Linked DNA regions of Homo sapiens: regions 1, 2, 3, 5 and 6 are each linked to region 4. Evidence: promoter capture Hi-C in 16 types of primary human blood cells and fetal thymus (Javierre and others, 2016). All regions are on one chromosome and are shown on one strand. Each heading gives the region's core, a stretch centred on a gene start or on the middle of the fragment in contact. The rest is flanking DNA. Distances are from core to core; before and after follow the strand shown.

Region 1 (3,007 bases), core at 153-2,652, 7.8 Mb after region 4:
ATCTTCCCCGCCCCTTCTGCCGAGCTGATCTTTCTCTTGGAAATCTTACCCGCAGGGAAGGGCGAGTGTCCGTGCCTGCCTGCCTGCCTGCTGCAGCCCGCGCAAAGCTGAGCGGCCAGGGCGCTGCTGTTCCTTTAAAGTATTATTAAAAATAATATTTCAGCTTTTAAGTAACTCCTTGAGTTTGAATCAAAAGCTGGAAGAACCTCCTGGGCTCTATGAGCACCTCTGAATATGTCTGACTCTACATTCTAGAGGCTTCAATGTATTTATAATTTTGGCTCATAGATTCTCCACATCTTTTCAGCTTCAATTCTTGCTTTTCCCAGAAACAATTTTCAAGCAGGAGAGAATATTGATTGGACTTGATTTTCTCAGTTTGGGCAGAGGTTTGCAGACACTTTGCAGGTTGCCAGACCCTTCGTCCAGCCACCTGTCAGCTGGGGGTCATATGGTATAGAAAGCAGTCATTTCTATGCAAGGTACTGCTTGGGCCTGCCTCCCTCAAAGGGGTAGGGGATGCGGGCTGGACAAAGGGCTCGTGATCAAGTAAAGCACTGTGATGACAGCTGCTATTTCTATATCTCCCTAGACTTGTCTTCTAAATTAAACCTTGACTCCTCCCTTCCAAGCTGGAGCCACTGCTAACTACTGGGAGAGCCTTAGCAGATAAAGTCTCATGCCTCCAGGCGTTTGTGCATCCCATTTTCTCTGCAGAGTAGAATCTCCCTTCTACTTTTGTGCTCCTGGGGACGTCCTACTCTTCTTCCCCAGTTGGCTCTAAGGTTATCACATCGGTGAAGTGTTTCATTATCACTTTTTAGAAGAAACTGAGTCTTTTAGAGAAGTTAAGTGACTTTCTGCATTCATACTCATACTCAAGAAAATCTAACTCCACAATAACCAAAAATAAAAAGTAGAAAAAAACCCACAAGTGATGAGAAAAAAAAAAATCAAAAGTTATAAAAAATAAATGAAAAAATGAAATTAAAGGAAAAAAGATTTTTTAAAAAAGTAAAAAAAAGAAAAGAAATCTAACTCCAGAGCTCTGACACAAAATGCCTTAGGTGTTATTCTCAATGAGAGAAAAGGGACGTGAATCTTTAAGTGATTAAGTGAATCTTTAAGTAAATCTGTCGTACTAGCGTTTCAGGCGGCTCAAACACCACACGCTCCCGACTACGGCGGAATGGAGAGAATGTGCGCATGCTCGGCGGGAATCTGCGCATGCTCGGCGGGAATCTGCGCATGCTCGGAGAGAATCTGCGCATGCTCGGCCGGAATCTGCGCGAGCTCGGCGGGAATCTGCGCAAGCTCGGCGGGAATCTGCGCATGCTCAGAGTTCCGGGGCACGGTTTCCCCGCCCCTTTCAGGCCTAGCAGGAAACGAAGCGGCTCTTTCCGCTATCTGCCGCTTGTCCACCGGAAGCGAGTTGCGACACGGCAGGTTCCCGCCCGGAAGAAGCGACCAAAGCGCCTGAGGACCGGCAACATGGTGCGGTCGGGGAATAAGGTATAAAGAAAGCCATGGACTTGGGCTTTACCCGGACTGGGGATCCGGAGAGGGTGGTTCGGAAGCAGGAATCGTGGGATCGCGGTCAAGACAAAGAATGGGGCAAGAGAAGATCATGGTGGTGGGCTCAGTCAGGAGGGCCGGGACCGAGGGATGCGCTATGAGAAAAGCTGGAGATTTGGGGCTCCAAGACCTGAATTTGAGCCTCGCTGACTCCACCTCTTCCATTACCCACCCATCCCATCCCTCTTCTCCCTCTCTACCTGCTCTTTGTCTCACCTGCCTCCCCACCCGCCTCCCCTCTCTCTCTCTTTATCCCATTCCACTCCCTAGCCCCACTTCCTCTATTACTTCCGAGCCTGGGTTCTTAAGATCTCTATGAGAATGAAAATTAGCTGTGATAAAGCAACTATCCCACAGGGCTTGTTGTAAAACTTAAGAGAGGGACTATCTGTGACTAAAATAACTTAAACTGTAAAGCGTCGTATTATTAGCTTTATAATAACGTAGTATCCCGCATTTATTGAAAGCCCACTCTGTGAGGGACGGATCTAAACCTTTTATTCTTATCTCATTTAATCTTCACAACCCCTTGAAGTGAAAACTATTTATCCCCATTTTGCAAGTGGGAAAACCGAGGAATAAAGAACTGTGGGCTTTTCCTGGTGAAATCCGGATTTGAATCCAAGCTGTCTGGTTTCAGGGCCCTGGAGAACCCCTGTGTTGCTAGAAATCTATGACCATTGGTGTCCCAGATCAGTAACAGAAATTACAATGAATTTTAAAGTGATTTTTTTTTTTCAACATAAAAGAGTGGTAGTTGTCTCTGAAGGGTCACTAGAGGGAGATGTGGTTCCAGGGATTAATGAATTTATTCAATACAGATAAACAAGATACGAGTTTGAGCAACTGATCCCTAGTTCCCTCAACTCCTCATTGAGAAATGTTGATTAAAACGATCATGAACTTTTAATAATGCCACTCACCTCCTTTTTTCGTCCTCTTTCAGCTGCTGAAAACTTTGTAGCTCTAGTGGAGGAGCTGTTTGTTGCAGATGAACTGGAAGTAAAATTCTAACAGCCTGTATTGCTTCGGTATAGAAATGAAGAGTTGCTATGCTACCCGGTTTCTCTTTCTCAGTTTTCTTACTGCTGCCAGATAGGAACTCAGAAATATAGACCATTCTGCTTCCAGACAATAAGTTCCATATTTGAAACCCTTTGATGGCACTTACTGGATACCTAATTCATGACAAAAGTGCTTTAGTCCTCTAGAGTTTTCTGGTTTAAAAGTAGCTTTTGTGGGTGTGTATCAAATAAGTGCAGCAGCATATTTTGTGACTCTTAAGTTTTTTTAGGTTATCATGCCCCAGGCATTGAAACTGGGATGTGCATTTTACTGTTCTCAAAGGAATTTTGTGGTTTATTAGCACGTTTTTTTTTTCAAATAATCTAATTTTACTTCAGAAATCTCTTAGTGCATTGTGTTGTTTGTA
Region 2 (3,204 bases), core at 226-2,725, 6.5 Mb after region 4:
GACCATCCTGGCTAACACGGTGAAACCCCATCTGTACTAAAAATACAAAAAATTAGCCGGGCATGATGGCGGGCGCCTGCAGTCCCAGCTACTTGGGAGGCTGAAGCAGGAGAATGGCGTGAACCCGGGAGGCGGAGCTTGCAGTGAGACAAGATCGTGCCACTGCACTCCAGCCTGGGCGACAGAGCGAGACTCCGTCTCAAAAAAGGAAAGAAAAGAAAAAGTTGTGTTACTTATACTTTATGCAACTAGGTAACTTAAGTTCTGCAAGTTAGAAATCAAAGGGGAAAAAAGTCCAAAAAGGATATAAACTTTTGACAGCTACAAATAACAAAAAAACTGCCAGTGATCTTCATACAGAAATACTTAGCTGTACACACAGCAAGTGCTCAATAAAAATGCTTTTCAGAAGAAATGAAAATGAGACAAACCTTTCTTGGGTTTTACAAACCTTCTTGGTTTGTATACTAGAAAGAGCTACACGAAAAAAAGCAAGAAGTAACACTCATGAAAATGTCTTTGGACGGAATGAAAACCCTGAGAGGACTCCCATAATGTGACAGCATGAAGGAAAACAATAAACAGCATCACTAAGAGCGGGGACACCAGACATACAGTCTTTTGAGCAAACTAAGAAAATGAGAAATTCCGTGCCATCTTCAATCTACAACTATGGTAGATATCCGATGCTCCATCCCATCTCACTCGAAAAAGCTGGCACGGAGAAAATGTCAAAAAGGCCAGTTTAACTTAGAGTGGCAGCTGCTTCTAATTTAGAGGGTCTCCGGGGCGGCCCGCCAGCCCAATTCGCCACAGCTCCCGGAAAGCAGCGGGGTAATCCAGGGCCGGGTAAAAAATGCAGAAGCCTCAGCCCCACCCCAGCCCGATTCAAACTCTGGAGGCGCGACCGGGATGAACATTTTTTTAGCCACACCTCCAGACGGTTCTTCAGCCCGCTGAAGTTCAAAAACTACCGTTTCAGTTGGATTCAGGGCAAGGGGAGGCCGGTAAGTCGCCCAAAAATAAAGTGAATGAGAAGCAGAAGTTGTTAATACTATATCCCCCGGCAGGTGCTAACCGCACGCCGACCCGACTGCAGCGCGGGAACGGAAGGAGGAAACGGAAGATTTGAAAAGATTCTGCCGCCCCCAGAAACTGTGCGACCCGTGCCCTCGCAGCCACCCCCAAGAAGCTCCGTCTTTACCAACGCGAGCAGCGCAGCAGCTTCTCCAGGCGGTCGAGCGCGGCGCGACTGTGGGCCCAGGCACCGCGACCATCCGGTTCCATGGCGGGCGCGGAACGAGGCTCGTTCCCGGAGCGGATCCTCGGCTGCCGGTTCCTCGGCTGCCGATTATCCGGCATCGTCCCGCCTTCGGATGAAAGGCTCCTCGCAGAGCGGGAAGCAAGGAAGCCTCGGGAAACCACAGGGAAGCTGCAGGCCAGCGACTCGAAACCGGCCAAGCTCTTCCCGCGTCTGGGACGGCGGGCCGCCAGAGGGGCGGGGCGCGCGGGGAGGGGCGGGGCACGGCGGCCGCAATGCTCCCAAAATAGGGACTCGCAGGGCACAGGGGCGGGGCCGCGAGAGCCAGCCGCTGGCCGAGTGGGCGGGACCTAGGGGTGGGGCTGGAGGCTGAAACTTGCCAAAGTCCCGGCGTGTGGGACTTAGGGGAGGGGCCGCGAGAGCCGTGGGACCGAGGGGGCGGGGCCGGACGGCTGAAACTTGCCAAAGTCCCGGCGCGCGGGTCCTAGGGGCGGAGCCGCGAGAACACGCCGGGGACAGAGGGGGCGGGGCCTAGGAGCCTCGGGGCGGGACAGGACGGTCGAAACCGAAGTCCTGGCGCGCGGGGCCCAGGGGCGGGGCCTAGGGGCCTCGGGGCAGGACAGGACGGCTGAAACCGAGGTCCCGGCGCGCGGGGCCCAGGCGCCGTGCAGTGAGAGCACGCCGCTTGACCGAAGGGGCGGGGCCTGAAGGCTGAGCGCAGTCGCGAGGCTGTAGTTGGCAGGAGAGCGGGCGGGGCCTGAAGCCCCTCTGGGCTGCCTGGACGGATGAAGTCCAGGTGGAAAGCCAGTCGACGTTTCCCGGGAGCTACGACTCCAGGGACCCTCATCCGAGCTTAACCGTTGGAACAATCACAAACCCAGAAACTTTTAGCTGAGTGTTATTTATAAAAAGCGCTGTTTTGACTGCTGTTGGACTTGGAAAAGCTTTGCCCACGATACTGAAGGTACCACTCTTTGTTCCTAAGAAAGCAACCTTTTCTTTCCTCTCACCTCAGCTGTGGCGTATATTGTAACTGAGTAAAAATAAGGAAAGTTTCTAATTCTAACTAGTTAACAAATATCAGCTCAAAGGCATGTCTGAAAAGATCTGGTTTACTTTTAAAATATTGGTATAAAATTTCAAAAAGGGTTTTTTTTGTTAGAGAGTGTGTCCACCTTCCTCCTCCAGATCTTTCACTGATCGCCGTAATTTACAGATAAGACCTACAGAGCAACCCGTCATGCCTTCCTGCCGCGCCCCAAGTTCATTTCCAAGTCCTTGCATTTTTTCCCCCTAACTTGTCTCGAATGCACCCATTTTCTCTCCGTCTCTGCTCCACAACATCCCCAGTTGCCTCGTCCTCGCCTGGTTTCCTGTCGTAGCTTTCTAGCTGATATCCAAGTGTCTATCCAGGTCCCAGCCAGTCCCGAGACTGCGGTGTGGCCGCCTAAAACATTTCCAAACACAAAACTCATCGTGGCACTTCCCTTTCTTAAAACTCCTTAAAGTTTTTCTCTGCTCTTTGACTAGCCTCTTGTCAAAACCTCCTCTGGCCATCATGGTCCCAACCCCACAGTGCGTTCCCTTAGGTCATTAAAAGCCCCTGCACCTTGCTGCCTCATGGCTTTTGCGCAAAGATTCACTTTGGAACCTGGAATTGGCCTCCTCTCCATTCCTCATCCTTCAGAATACAGCTGAAGTATCACTCCTTAAAGGTTTTCCTAGTTCCTAGACTGGATTCTCTCAGGTGCATCATATCACCTGTGTATGTAGATACACACACATACGATTATGTGCGTGTCCCCTTCTAGTTCAAAACCTCCAAAAGGCCAGAGATTGGCTGCATGTGACTCATTTCCCAATATCGCTTCATGTGGCACATGCAGTGCTTGGCTCCAGGTAGGTGCTCAGTGTTTGTTGAATCATTGAACTACCTACCCAAG
Region 3 (3,027 bases), core at 145-2,644, 5.4 Mb before region 4:
TTGGGAGACCGAGGTGGGCGGATCACTTGAGGCCAGGAGTTCGAGACCAGCATGGCCACCAAGACAAATTCCTGTCTCTACTAAAAATACAAAAATTAGCCAGGCTTGGTGGCACATGCCTGTAATTCCAGCTACTCTGGAGGCTGAGGCGGGAAGATTGTTTGAACCCGGGAGACAGAGGTTACAGTGAGCCAAGATCCCACCACTGCAGTCCAGCCTGGGCAACAGAGTGAGACTCTGTCTCCAAAAAAACCAAACCAAACAAACAAAAAAAAGCCCCACATATTTCAAAAAATTTTATTTTAAGAAAAACAAAAAAACCTACTTTCAATTAAAAAACACAGTGGTTATGTTAATGCATCACCACATTCCTAGAGAAGTATTAAGGCAATGTATGTAAGTAAGTACATATACTCAGGTGCATTGATAATACGATTTATGTATACTTTCAGCAACAACACAAGGGGAGAGAAGATGATTTACTAGCTCTCCTCATAAAGCTACAAACAAAACCACAGATGTAACTCAGGTGGGAGTTTCCTAGTTTATGGCTAACTTTAGCTTATTAACACGACAAATATTATCATTTTCACTGAAAAATTTGACATTTTTTGTTGACTCAGCCAATCCAAGAAGCTTAATTAATATATAGTCCCTGCCCTCAAGAGACTTCCAATATAGTTGGAAGAGACCAGGCAAACACAAAGAAAGCTAACAATGCAATATATACCACAAGGCAGCATATAATTAGTTTTCGAATGAGTGCTAACAGACCTTGAGACCACTGGTTAAAATGTTTATATATCTATATAGATATACATAAATGGTAAATATGTTTTTTCATTTTCAAAAACTTTTTTTCCGTTTTCAAAAACTGTGAACCACCACTAGCAGACACCCTATAACAAGGCCCACTGTTCATTTTTAAATTACACATATAAAATGTTTCATTCAGAAAGCAAACCTGAAGCCCTTCAGCCTCCTCCACACTCACAATTCAAATTATATAGAACCTACGAAGCTGGTTAGAAAGCAGGTAATCTCAGAAAAAAGGGTGGGGGTGACAGCAGAAACAACCAGGGATCCACAAGGTCATACCAAAGGGGTGGTCGGAAAGGAACCTGGGGAAGGGAGAGAAGGCTGGAACGCTTACTTACTTCTTGTTATCAGTGTAGAAGCGTGTTTGGAGCTGAGCCATGGCGAGGAGTACACACGACTTGCCCACGGAAACGTACGGGTTAGCAGACCCACAACACGAAGCTCCTGCCTTTTAAGACTACAAAGAGGCAGCTCAAAATTAGACTGCACAGGTAAGCGAGGAACTGCAGTCTAAGCCTGGACTCTGCCTTCTGCCCTCCGGTCTCCTCTGCAGAAAGCACGAGGTTGCCCTTCTACAGACGCCCAGACCACAAACATCGACTACCTACTCCTAGATTTAGGAGTCATCGATTAGAAAAGGATAGTCGTAAAGGTAGCATGTCCCTTTAATCATTGTTAGAATTCTTCCCATACGTGTGGGCCCGTAATCGATTAGGAAAAAGATCCCACTCAAATCCGCTTTATTAATAAAAAATTTTTTTTCAAGAGGCTGTCCTGAGCCTGGATAGTTCAAACACAGCTCCTAGTTACTACAAGTCTCAGAAAGCATCGCTTCTCAAACGCTGTGACCACCGGGAATTGTAGTCTTTTTTTGCCACGCTGCCCTCAGAGTATCTTATTTGCATTAAATCCTCTAGACTCCAGCCAGATATCAAATTTCCTCTGCCTTCAGCTTTGCTTGACTAACGCCTTGCCAGTTTTTTTTTCTCATACATATTCCCAACCAGAGGCTCACTCGGCAGAGGTTTTTCCTAAATCTCGCCTCTAACTGCGGCTTTTAGAGAGAGGCGAGAGGCGGAAATACAAAGAAAAGAACGGATGAGAGAGGAAACGGTCGACGGTGGCCGATAGTGGTCCTACTGTCGTGGGACTGCTCTGCGCGCTCCCGGTGGGGCGCGCCTGCGCATTATGCTGGTCTCCATGGCGGGGCCTCGGAGCCAAGACGAGGTTGAGTAGACTCGTTTTGAATTTTCTCCCCTCTGCTCCGGCGGACTTCCCATGTCGCCTTGTGGGGCTATCGGCGGCGGCAGGACTGGGGGAGTCAGAGGTCTGGCAGCGCTGTCTGCGCAGACCTACCGGACGCTACCTCCCAACCCCCCGTCTTCCTCCTGCCTCCTCCTCCTCCCGTCACCTCCTGACCCGCCGGAGCTCCGAGCAACTGCCGGCCTCCGCCCCCAGCCGCAGCCGGTCACTGGCGGCGCCTTCCGCGCCAAGCTTGGGGGCCTTTTCGGGGTCCCACATGGCACGGCTTCCGACCCCCGGCCCGGGACGGGGCTCGCAGGCCCCAGAGGGGCAGGCTGGAGAAGGAGGAGGTTAGGTGTCTTCAGGAGGGTTGCTGAGCCCAAGGACGCGCCATCGCCGCGGAGAAGGAGCCGGACCCCTTGGGCGGAGCGCCCAATGTGTGGTCCCTCACGCCGTCCCGCACCTTGCTTTTTAGGGTTCTTTTTCCGCTTTCTGAGCCCTTTTATACCTTACGTTTAGAAGGGGAAAATCATCCTCCCACACCTTCTCCCCGACTTTTTGCCTTTTTTGTCTTGAAGTTACCCAAAGGCCTGTGTATTGTTCTCAATGGTCCCAAGAATTACTCTAATATAGTTGTTTTTCTGAGGGAGGATGGATGGAGATAACTATCCTGATCCCAATGTCACTTTTTAAGGCATTCGCTTCAAGAGACAAGCAGTTTAGAATCAGGCAGAACTGGATTGCAAAATTTATGGGCAGACCGGTATGTGTGCAGGTGAAGACAAAGCTTTCCTTTTTTACGTTGTTTAAAGATGTCCTACTGTAAGGTAGACGCCTAATGTTTAAATGAACGCCTAATATTTAAATAGAGAATGAGAAGAGATTTAAACAATTGGAAGAAAAAATAATTTTTATTAGAGAGCAATGACAATAAAAGTAGGACTCTTTTCAGTTTACTCACCTTTG
Region 4 (2,984 bases), core at 15-2,514:
AGGGGAGGTTGCAGATACGGTGCAAGCTCCCAGACAGGAGAGGGTGAATTGGGGGCCAAAAGGATTGAGCTGGGGAAGAAGAGGCCCCTTCCTCAGAGAGATGAGGGAGAAAGGCAGACCAGGGCAGATGTGGATGTAGGTAAATGTTGTGGTGTGTGGGGAATTAGCTTGTTAAGGGTCACGCCCAGATACCTTGGGATTTTTCACGTGGGTATAAAATATGATTCTCTGATGAGAATGATGGTCAAGGTAATGTGGGGGTCGTGGTGGTGGTCTGACGCAGCAGTAATAAGGAATGGGAGAAGCTGACTACAGACTCCCAGAAAGATTGCTGAAGGGCCCAGCTGAGGATGGTGACTGGGATTTGCACTGGACTCAACCTGCAGGTTTCGATGGTGCTTTCCAACTCCAGGAAAACTGGGCTGGGATTTGACAAAACTCTTGAGGAAAAGGACTCACAGAATTTAAAACTGCATTTCCCTTTAGGTTTCGTCTGCTTTCCATCCTCCCCTACCAAGCCCCACAACTGCGGCGAGCATGTTTTCTGCAGTTAACTGCACTGCGCTCTCAGCAGGACAGAAATGACGAATAACTCTAGCCAAGCTGAACAAGATAGGGCTTGGGCTTGGTAACTTTATTTGCATCAGCATTTGCAACACAACACCTAAATGAAAAAATTAACTATAAAGCCGACATCACTTACTCTGGGTCAGGGAACTGTGCCATTCGCTTTAAGTGCATTTACTTAATCTCAAAAAAGTATTAAGAAGTGAGTCCTTTTATTAATCCGACTTTACACACCAGAGGTCTAAGGCCTAAATAAATGAGCAATTTGCTTAAGATCATATGGCTGGTTATTGGTGGAGTCATGCAAGTCTGGAAACAGAGTCATCGCTAACTCCGGTTCAGTGCTACACGAGTGAACTGTCTACAACAAAGCAATAACATATTATGAGTGCCCACAGTATCGAACACATACGGTAACCGCAGTCCAGCCAGCACCCCTGCAGTGCCCAGAGCACCAAGCACCCATCCGTTGACCCCGCATGCGTGACGCTCACGCGCGCAGTCCCCCTGGCTTCTTCCAGGAAGGCTGAAGCGGCCTAATCTCGGCCAAAAGATCAGGACGACTCGATCTGGGCTGGACTCCTTCTGCCTGAGCATCTGATCCGAGCGTCGGCCGGGCTGGGAGGAGCCGGCCCCCGGGAAAGATTTCGGACTGGGGGACAGGAAAACAGAGGGCGGAGTCTTGGGGGGGGGAAGCGAGAAGCCGCATCAACCATGTAAGCAGCTTCGCTTCCTGCCGCAACCGTCCGCGGCCTGAGGAGCCCACCGCCGCTCTCGGGGGCCGACTTCCGGGGGCTGAGCCGTTGAAGCGGAGGCTGGGGCGGGGGGCAGCCGGCGCGGCCGGGGCAGGAGGCGCAGGTAAGGGAGGGGGCCTGGAGCTTGGCCGGCTGGGGCTCAGCATGGGAAGGAGGCCGGTATGGGGAGCTCCAGGGCCAGAGCTGAGGTGAAAGTGAGAACCAGGGCTCCGCAGTCGGGGGCTAGGGCCTGGCTGCCGGCTGAGCAAGGAAGGGCAGAGAATCTGGCTTTAGAATTAGCTTGTCCTCCCTATTCCCCGGCTGCCTTGTCTGGCGAGTGGGGACGGAAGCCGGGTGGGGCCCTTGAGATTTCCTTGGAAACATTTGAAGTTCCTTTGCCTCTCTCTCGACCCTTACGCCTGAACTTAATTAGGAGGGGAAGAGTACAGTTACTTTTCCCTCTGAGTGCATGAGTTCTGAGTTTGTCAGAGGCGCATCCGTAGGCTGGAAAAGAAAGTTCATGAGCTGCAGAAACGATACCAACCGTGGGGGTTCAAATAAGTGTTTGTCTTTTTAAATGCTTGCCTCTGCTATTTGAGACGATTCCATTTCAACTTAGGTTTTGGAGTTTCTTGAGGAGGAGCATTATTTCCCAATTAGTGTTTACCCTTTGCTTAGAATGTTCCCAACAAAAGGATGAGAATGGAATGTGTTGGAAACTTTTAGGACTTAGGGGTTTTCTGCCCAATCAGAGGTTATTCCTAAGACAGTCAAGAAATATAAGAAGTGCTAGAATTCTGTATAAAGCAAGTTATTCGTGTGTATCTGATGTGTATACATGATTCATTATCTACTATTGACGCAGTGCATCCTGTGTTGTAAAATATGTCCAGTGTTGACAATAGAGGTAGTCGCTTGGTATAATGTACTTATTTCTGATTTATTTGAGCCCCTTTTTTGGCACTCCAAAACTCCCACTCTGTCAGTTTTCTTACAAAAAATGTTCTTTCTTTTGTGTTTGTGACAAAGATTGTGTAGGTTAAATCTCTTCTGTGGAGCAAGGCTAATTTCCTGTGTTCTCCCTTTTTCTGCTTTCTGGATCCTGCTCTGGTTTTCCTTTAAGCGTGTTGGTCAAAAATTGAACAAGAAATCTTTGTTGATAGAAGCTAACATTTCCAATATTCAGCTTTCCTAAATTATTACATTGCCAGTTTTTTTTTTTTTTTTTTTTGAGAGACAGAGTCTCGCTCTGTCCCCCAGGTTGGAGTGCAGTGGCGCGATCTCCTCCGACTGCAACCTCCGCCTCCCAGGGTTCAGGCGATTCTCCTGCCTCAGCCTCCTGAGTAGCTAGATTGCAGGCGCGCGACACCACACTCGGCTAATTTTTGTATTTTTAGGGGAGACGGGGTTTCACCATGTTAGCGAAGCTGGTTTTGAATTCCTGACCTCAGGCGATTCACCCGCCTCGGCCTCCCAAGGTGCTGGGATTACAGGCGTGAGCCACCGGGCGGGGGTCTCCCTCCCTCGCCCAGGCTGGAGTGAAGTGGTGTGATCTCGGCTTACTGCAGTCTCCGCCTCCCAGGCTCAAGGGATTCTCCTGCCTCGGCCTCCCAAAGTGCTGGGATCACAGGTGTGAGCAGCCACGTCCGGCCTTTACTGACTGGCTTCTGATAGTTTGTAGTA
Region 5 (3,004 bases), core at 222-2,721, 7.0 Mb after region 4:
TTTGTGGCAAAGGTGTCATTTTTAGAAAGAAACAAATGTGTTCAATTTTGCTTTCCCTGTTTTTAATGAATTAAGAAAGGTCTTCTCTTACCTTCTTTTGACTGTCATCATTCCTCTCATCCAGGAATATTTACAGGTTTGCAAGAAGACACCATCTTTAAGTAGTTTTTAGGCACTTTTACAATACTGACTAAATTGTATAAAATAGTATTATAAATTAATATTTAAATTATAATTTTATGACGTGAAAATCAACAACGAATGTCAATTTCACTTCGTTTTGACTGTCATCTGTGGCCTCTGGAGTCCCTCACTTAAATCATTGGTCCTTGGTTTTATTTTTTAAGCCTATTAAAAAGGAGGATGGGGCCGGGCACGGTGGCTCACACCTGTAATCCCAGCACTTTGGGAGGCTGAGGTGGACAGATCATTTGAGGTCAGGAGTTGAAGACCGGCCTGGCCAACACCGTGAAACCCCATCTCTACTAAATATACAAAAAAAAAAAAAAAAAAGTACAACAACAACAAAAAATTAGACGGGTGTGGAGGCAGAGGCAGGAGAATTTCTTGAACCTGGGAGGCAGAGGTTGCAGTGAGCTGAGATGGTGCCACTGCTCTCCAGTCTGGGAGACAGAGCGAGACCCTGTCTCAAAACAAACAAGCAAACAAGCAAGCAAGCAAACAAACAAAAAACAAGTTGGGCATGGTGGCTCACCCCTGTAATCCCAGCACTTTGGGAAGCCGAGGCAGGCGGATCACCTGAGGTCAGGAGTTTGAGACCAGCTTGGCCAACATGGCGAAACCCCATGTCTACTAAAAATACAAAAATTAGCCGGGCATCGTGGCGCCTGCCTATAATTCCAGCTACTCGGGAGGCTGAGGCAGGATAAACTCTTGAACCCGGGATGTGGAGGTTGCAGGTTGCACGTGACATAGCCGAGATCGCGCCATTGCACTCCAGCCTGGGCAACAAAAGCGAAACTCCATCTCAAAAAAAAAAAAAAAAAACAAAAAAAACAAAAAAACCCAGAAAAACAAAAAAACAACAAACAAAAAGGGAGGATGGTAGATAACTGTCCAGATACTTTCCAGCTTTGCCGCTATATGAACTATTCCTTTTGTTTAGTTTTCAGCATGGGAGCTTCTGGCACTTTTACGTACTTTCCAGCTTCTGGGGACCGGCTGCCTAGAATAACAGGCATTTGCCCCAGAGGCCGTGGAGTGGCCTCACTTTGGGGTCGTGGGCAGATCGCTGGCTCCCACGCCTGGACTTCGGGATCGCAGGCAGGATCCCTTCCAGCCCAAGCACTCCGCCCAGGCGCGCCAGGCAGAGCCCCACCCCATCCCGCCGTTCCCTTCAGCCCCGGGGCGCGGATCTTGCATCTGAAACTGAGCAGAGCAGGGCGCCGGGCAGGGCCGGCGGGCCACGTGATAAGCCCGGAAACAGCTCCGCCCCCTCGCTTCCTGAGCCGCCACATCCCGGCAGCCCTCCTACCTGCGCACGTGGTGCCGCCGCTGCTGCCTCCCGCTCGCCCTGAACCCAGTGCCTGCAGCCATGGCTCCCGGCCAGCTCGGTGAGGCCCTAGCGGAGCGGCGCGGTCTGCGTCCTCGCCTGCGGCCCCCCACGCTCCCGCCTTGGCGGCGGCCGGCGGGACCCGGCACTGCAGGGGCGGCGCTGCGGGATTGAAAGCCAGCGTCCCCGCTCCCCGGCCGGGCCGCAGCCTGCGTGGGGCCCGCCTTAGAGCAGCTCGCGGGTGTAAGACCTGGGGAGGCCCGGACCAGGCCTGCGAACGCAGGGTCCAGGTGCTGGCCTTGCGATTCGAGAATCTCCTCCCCCAGACCCTCCCAAGGCCTTGCAGAACACAGTGCAATGTGCTGCGAATCATGAGAAAAAATGTCTTCTCTTTCAGCCTTATTTAGTGTCTCTGACAAAACCGGCCTTGTGGAATTTGCAAGAAACCTGACCGCTCTTGGTTTGAATCTGGTCGCTTCCGGAGGGACTGCAAAAGCTCTCAGGGATGCTGGTCTGGCAGTCAGGTAAGGCATAGCTAGTTCCATCAGAAAGGAGTGTGATCACATTAACCAGGAAGTATTGTATTCCAGGCACCAGCAGCAAAACGCCTTATTTACTCCTCCCAGTAGCGCTGTGAGGTTGGTGTAATACTTCCCCACTTTATGGGGAAAAAAAGTGAGGCTCAGAGAGATTTAGCAACTTTTAAGACCCTGGACGGCTGGGCTAGGTGGCTCACGCATGTAATCCCAGCACTTTGGGAGGCCGAGGTGGGCTGATCACTTACGGTCAAGAGTTCGAGACCAGCCTGGCCAACATGGTGAAACCCGTCTCTACTAAAAATACAAAAATTAGCCGGTATGGTGGCACACGCCTGTAATCCCAGCTACTGGGAAGGCTGAGGCAGGAGAATCGCTTGAACCTAGGAGGCGGAGGTTGTGGTGAGCCGAGATGGCACTACTGCACTCCATCCTGGGTGACAGAGAAAGACCCTGGACAACACACTGGACAGATTTAGCATCTTCTGCACAAGTTTAAACAGTTGAGTAAGGGAAAAGTAGGATTGGAACCCGTGCTGTTCCTGATTTTAGGACACTAGTCTTAGCCCCTTCCTTAAACAGATTAACTTAGGTGGGCCACTTGTTATGCAAGGAAAACTTCAGTTACTTTGACTGGTGATTTAATAAAACTCGACATCATGAAGATTCCAATTTACCTGCCTTCCCTTAGAATCTCTGGTAACCATATGAAGGTGCAAATCATTCATTCCCACGTTCACAAGCCCTTCATTAGCTGACTAGGCCATGGAAAGAAGGGACTTAGAAATGATTAACCAGGATGCCATTGCTGATGTCAAGGAGTGGCATTCTGGGAGGAGAGGGAGGAAGTCTACTGAAAGGTAGAAAAATGAAAAAAACTATAGGATAGCTATTTAATAAACGGCAGTGAGAGTTGGGAGGAACGAGATGACCACCCCTGAAACATATTTTAGAA
Region 6 (2,982 bases), core at 4-2,503, 8.3 Mb before region 4:
AATACAGGCGTGCGCCACCACGCCCGGCTAATTTTTGTATTTTTTGTACAGACGGGGATTCACCATATTGGCCAGGCTGGTCTTGAACTCCTGACCTCAAGTGATCCACCGACCTGGGCCTCCCAAAATGTTAGGATTACTGGCATGAACCACGGCGCCCAGCCCATCCGACTTTTGTAACACTCAGAATTGTAGTTTTGTTTGTTTGTTTGAGACCGAGTTTAGCTCTTGTTGCCCAGGCTGGAGTGCAGTGGCGCGATCTCGGCTCACTGCAACCTCCGCCTCCCGGGTTCAAGCGATTCTCCTGCCTCAGCCTCCCGAGTAGCTGGGATTACAGGTATGGGCCACCACCATGCCCGGCTAATTTTGTATTTTTAGTAGAGATGGGATTTCTACTGGCTGGTCTTGAACTCCTGACCTCCGGTGATCCGTCCGCCTCGGCCTCGCAAAGTGCTGGGATTACAGGCGTGAGCCACCGCGCCCGGCCCCAGAACTGTAATTCTATGACCACCCTTATAAATGTAAATATCAGGTAAGAAAATTGCTGGGTATTTTTCCTACCATAAACTGACTTACTGTAATCCTGTGGATTTTTCCTTTTAATACCTTGTTTTTCTTAGGTCTGGACTCCCTTGAAAAGCACTGCAAGTAAAAGCACTTTTTGTTTCCCTAATATTTCTCTATGAGTTTTCTTTTAAAGACCTAAGGTTCTAACTACAGGTATAAAAGACTCCAATGTCGGAACTAGAACCTAAGTAAGTTAGAATTCAAGACGAGTAGGAGTTTTCCGGGGGAATCCCATTGCTTTCCTTTTTGGCTCAGTGGAGTGAAAAGTTGTGCCTTCAAATCCATTAATTCGGAGCAGACTGACAGATGCGGAGTAAAGAGTTTAGGCAAAATACCTCTCGCACTCAGCTCTCCGCCATCATCTTGCTCCCCAGAAACATGGGACTTTCTCCGGAAATTTCAATAGAGGAGCCAGTCGGCGTCCCCCGTGCACCTTTCCCTTGGTCTAAGGGCCAACCAGTGATCTGCTGCCGTCCTGCGCCTCTTTCCCACACCCTGGGTCTCTAAAAACCAGTTCCCAGCTGTCCGAAAGGTAAAGACGTGTCTCTCGCTGGTTTCTCGAGGTTCTGCCCCGCGCGAGGGCCTCACCTGTGGGTAGAGGTGCTGCATGAACTGCTCCCGAGAAACGCCCTCCAGCCGGGGTACCGGGAGGTGCTGCCCGGCCATGGTTGCTCACGCCTGCCCTCTTCCAGGTCTTCGGAACTTCGGCTCTAAAGCGTTCCTCAGCGCCATCCGCCCGGAAACACGAGCGACAGAGAAAAGGTCCGCGAGGCCGGCAGACTCCAGAGTGGCTGGGTCCGAGCGCGGGGCGGGTTGCCGAAGGGCCTCGGCCTGGGCTGCGTGCTGGAGAGCGGGGACGGGGCCGACTCACCAGAGGCTGCAGCAACAGGTCCACTTTGCTCTCCAGTCTCTTTCTCCGACACCGCTGAGGCGGTTTCCCACCGACTTCCTTTCCATACAGCACCGGCAGGCACCGGTGTGAAGGGTCATAAAAATGGCGCTGGCCGCTCGTTTGCTACCCCAGTTCCTGCACTCTCGGTCGCTGCCCTGCGGGGCCGTCCGACTCCGGACTCCTGCTGTGGCCGAGGTGAGGCTGCCGTCGGCCACACTTTGCTACTTCTGCCGCTGTCGCCTCGGCTTGGGAGCGGCGTTATTTCCACGAAGCGCTAGGGCCTTGGCAGCCTCGGCGCTACCTGCCCAGGGCTCCCGGTGGCCAGTGCTCAGCAGCCCGGGACTCCCCGCAGCCTTCGCTTCTTTCCCTGCCTGCCCTCAGCGCAGCTACAGCACGGAGGAGAAGCCCCAGCAGCACCAGAAAACCAAGATGATCGTCCTGGGATTCTCCAACCCCATCAACTGGGTTAGGACTCGAATTAAGGCCTTCCTTATCTGGGCCTATTTCGACAAAGAGTTCAGCATCACAGAGTTCTCCGAGGGAGCGAAGCAGGTTTGTTTATTTCCCTGATTGACCTATCCGTCTCTAATGAGTTCAACTATTGCTCGCAGAAGTGCTTAGCAGTGAGTTTTCTTCACTGGGATACAAGTGATCAAACGTGATTAGTGGCCCAGACATAGAGCCTTCCAGCCATTGCTTGACTTAAAGTAAGCTTCTGGGCCGGGAATGGTGGTACACGCCTGTAGTCTCAGCTACTTGGGAGGCTGAAGGGGAGGATCGCTTGAACCCAGGAGTTGGACGTTGTAGTGAGCTGTGATCGTGCCATTGCACTCCAGCCTGGGATACAGAGCCAGGCCCTGTCTCAGAAAGAAAAAGCTATATGGCTCATCTTGTCTGAACATAATTTTCAAATTTACAAAGTGGGCAAGACAATGCCTGGCACATAGTAGGCACTCCATGAATGTTTGCTGAATACATTAATAAATGGGTAAGATTGAAGAATAATTGAGATAACATTTCCAAAGTGCTGTAATGTCACCTTGGGTAGAAGAGCAGAACTTCCTGCCAGCTATTAGACAGAGCCGACCAATACACCACCCCATACTCCGTAAAGATTAAACTGGAGATGAGCAATTTTACCCTTTCAAAGGATTTGCTGAGACTGCCTGGTGGCTAAGTGCACAGCACCCTGCACACAGAAAATATTTAGCCTTTAGAGATTCTTATCCCTGACTTTGTTAGTTACGTACCTGTTTCTGAATGGCTGATTATACCTTGCCTTACCCTTGTGACATATGGTCACTTGGGTCCTGAGATTATTTGTAGATTTTGTGGGTACATGCTTTTTTTTTTTTTTTTTGGACTCCTTTACAGATTGTATCGTTCCCAAACATTGCAGAACTGCTGATAACAATAGAAGTCGGCCAGGCATGGCGGCTCACGCCTGTAATCCCAGTACTTTGGGAGGCCGAGGCAGGTGGATCACAAGGTCAGGAGTTCGAGACCAGCCTGGCCAATATGGT

Evidence for each region. The method cuts DNA at HindIII sites, captures the fragments that hold promoters and counts their contacts. A CHiCAGO score of 5 or more calls a contact.
Region 1: the fragment with the promoter of XRCC5 here is called in contact with the fragment with the promoter of PIKFYVE in region 4 in 1 of 17 cell types (total CD4 T cells); the score reaches 5.1 in total CD4 T cells.
Region 2: the fragment with the promoter of BARD1 here is called in contact with the fragment with the promoter of PIKFYVE in region 4 in 3 of 17 cell types (naive CD8 T cells, non-activated CD4 T cells and fetal thymus); the score reaches 11.4 in naive CD8 T cells.
Region 3: a contact is called between the fragment with the promoter of WDR12 here and the fragment with the promoter of PIKFYVE in region 4, in 2 of 17 cell types (non-activated CD4 T cells and total B cells). The highest score is 7.3, in non-activated CD4 T cells.
Region 5: a contact is called between the fragment with the promoter of ATIC here and the fragment with the promoter of PIKFYVE in region 4, in 2 of 17 cell types (non-activated CD4 T cells and naive CD4 T cells). The highest score is 5.5, in non-activated CD4 T cells.
Region 6: the fragment with the promoter of TYW5 here is called in contact with the fragment with the promoter of PIKFYVE in region 4 in 1 of 17 cell types (non-activated CD4 T cells); the score reaches 5.6 in non-activated CD4 T cells.

What each region holds. Positions count from the first base shown.
Region 1 is chr2:216,107,946-216,110,952 of GRCh38, forward strand. It overlaps XRCC5 (X-ray repair cross complementing 5), which reads left to right and starts at 1,403. Exons shown (of 21, transcript NM_021141.4): 1 at 1,403-1,512. The coding sequence starts at 1,492. RefSeq lists an enhancer at 1,127-1,748. The HindIII fragment of the contact is 16,954 bases long and covers 1-3,007 here.
Region 2 is chr2:214,808,208-214,811,411 of GRCh38, forward strand. BARD1 (BRCA1 associated RING domain 1) reads right to left here and starts at 1,476. Exons shown (of 11, transcript NM_000465.4): 1 at 1,205-1,476. The coding sequence starts at 1,362. SNHG31 (small nucleolar RNA host gene 31) reads left to right here and starts at 2,022. Exons shown (of 4, transcript NR_110292.1): 1 at 2,022-2,225. RefSeq lists enhancers at 415-464, 755-834 and a silencer at 1,385-1,954. The HindIII fragment of the contact is 4,673 bases long and covers 1-2,203 here.
Region 3 is chr2:202,910,279-202,913,305 of GRCh38, forward strand. It overlaps WDR12 (WD repeat domain 12), which reads right to left and starts at 1,395. Exons shown (of 13, transcript NM_018256.4): 1 at 1,158-1,395. The coding sequence starts at 1,198. It overlaps CARF (calcium responsive transcription factor), which reads left to right and starts at 1,997. Exons shown (of 17, transcript NM_024744.17): 1 at 1,997-2,824. RefSeq lists enhancers at 1,578-1,727, 1,738-1,887, 1,928-2,127, 2,228-2,277. The HindIII fragment of the contact is 1,677 bases long and covers 635-2,311 here.
Region 4 is chr2:208,264,991-208,267,974 of GRCh38, forward strand. It overlaps PIKFYVE (phosphoinositide kinase, FYVE-type zinc finger containing), which reads left to right and starts at 1,265. Exons shown (of 42, transcript NM_015040.4): 1 at 1,265-1,425. RefSeq lists an enhancer at 1,102-1,151 and a silencer at 1,282-1,551. The HindIII fragment of the contact is 8,601 bases long and covers 1-2,984 here.
Region 5 is chr2:215,310,588-215,313,591 of GRCh38, forward strand. It overlaps ATIC (5-aminoimidazole-4-carboxamide ribonucleotide formyltransferase/IMP cyclohydrolase), which reads left to right and starts at 1,472. Exons shown (of 16, transcript NM_004044.7): 1 at 1,472-1,574; 2 at 1,911-2,037. The coding sequence starts at 1,556. It overlaps LOC124907975 (a long non-coding RNA gene), which reads right to left and starts at 1,385. Exons shown (of 2, transcript XR_007088075.1): 1 at 92-1,385. RefSeq lists an enhancer at 1,176-1,826 and silencers at 1,357-1,436, 1,447-1,816. The HindIII fragment of the contact is 8,450 bases long and covers 1-3,004 here.
Region 6 is chr2:199,954,238-199,957,219 of GRCh38, forward strand. TYW5 (tRNA-yW synthesizing protein 5) reads right to left here and starts at 1,254. Exons shown (of 8, transcript NM_001039693.3): 1 at 1,156-1,254. The coding sequence starts at 1,233. It overlaps MAIP1 (matrix AAA peptidase interacting protein 1), which reads left to right and starts at 1,345. Exons shown (of 5, transcript NM_001394955.1): 1 at 1,345-2,011. The coding sequence starts at 1,562. RefSeq lists enhancers at 898-2,097, 1,208-1,327, 1,498-1,657, 1,678-1,777. The HindIII fragment of the contact is 7,808 bases long and covers 1-2,169 here.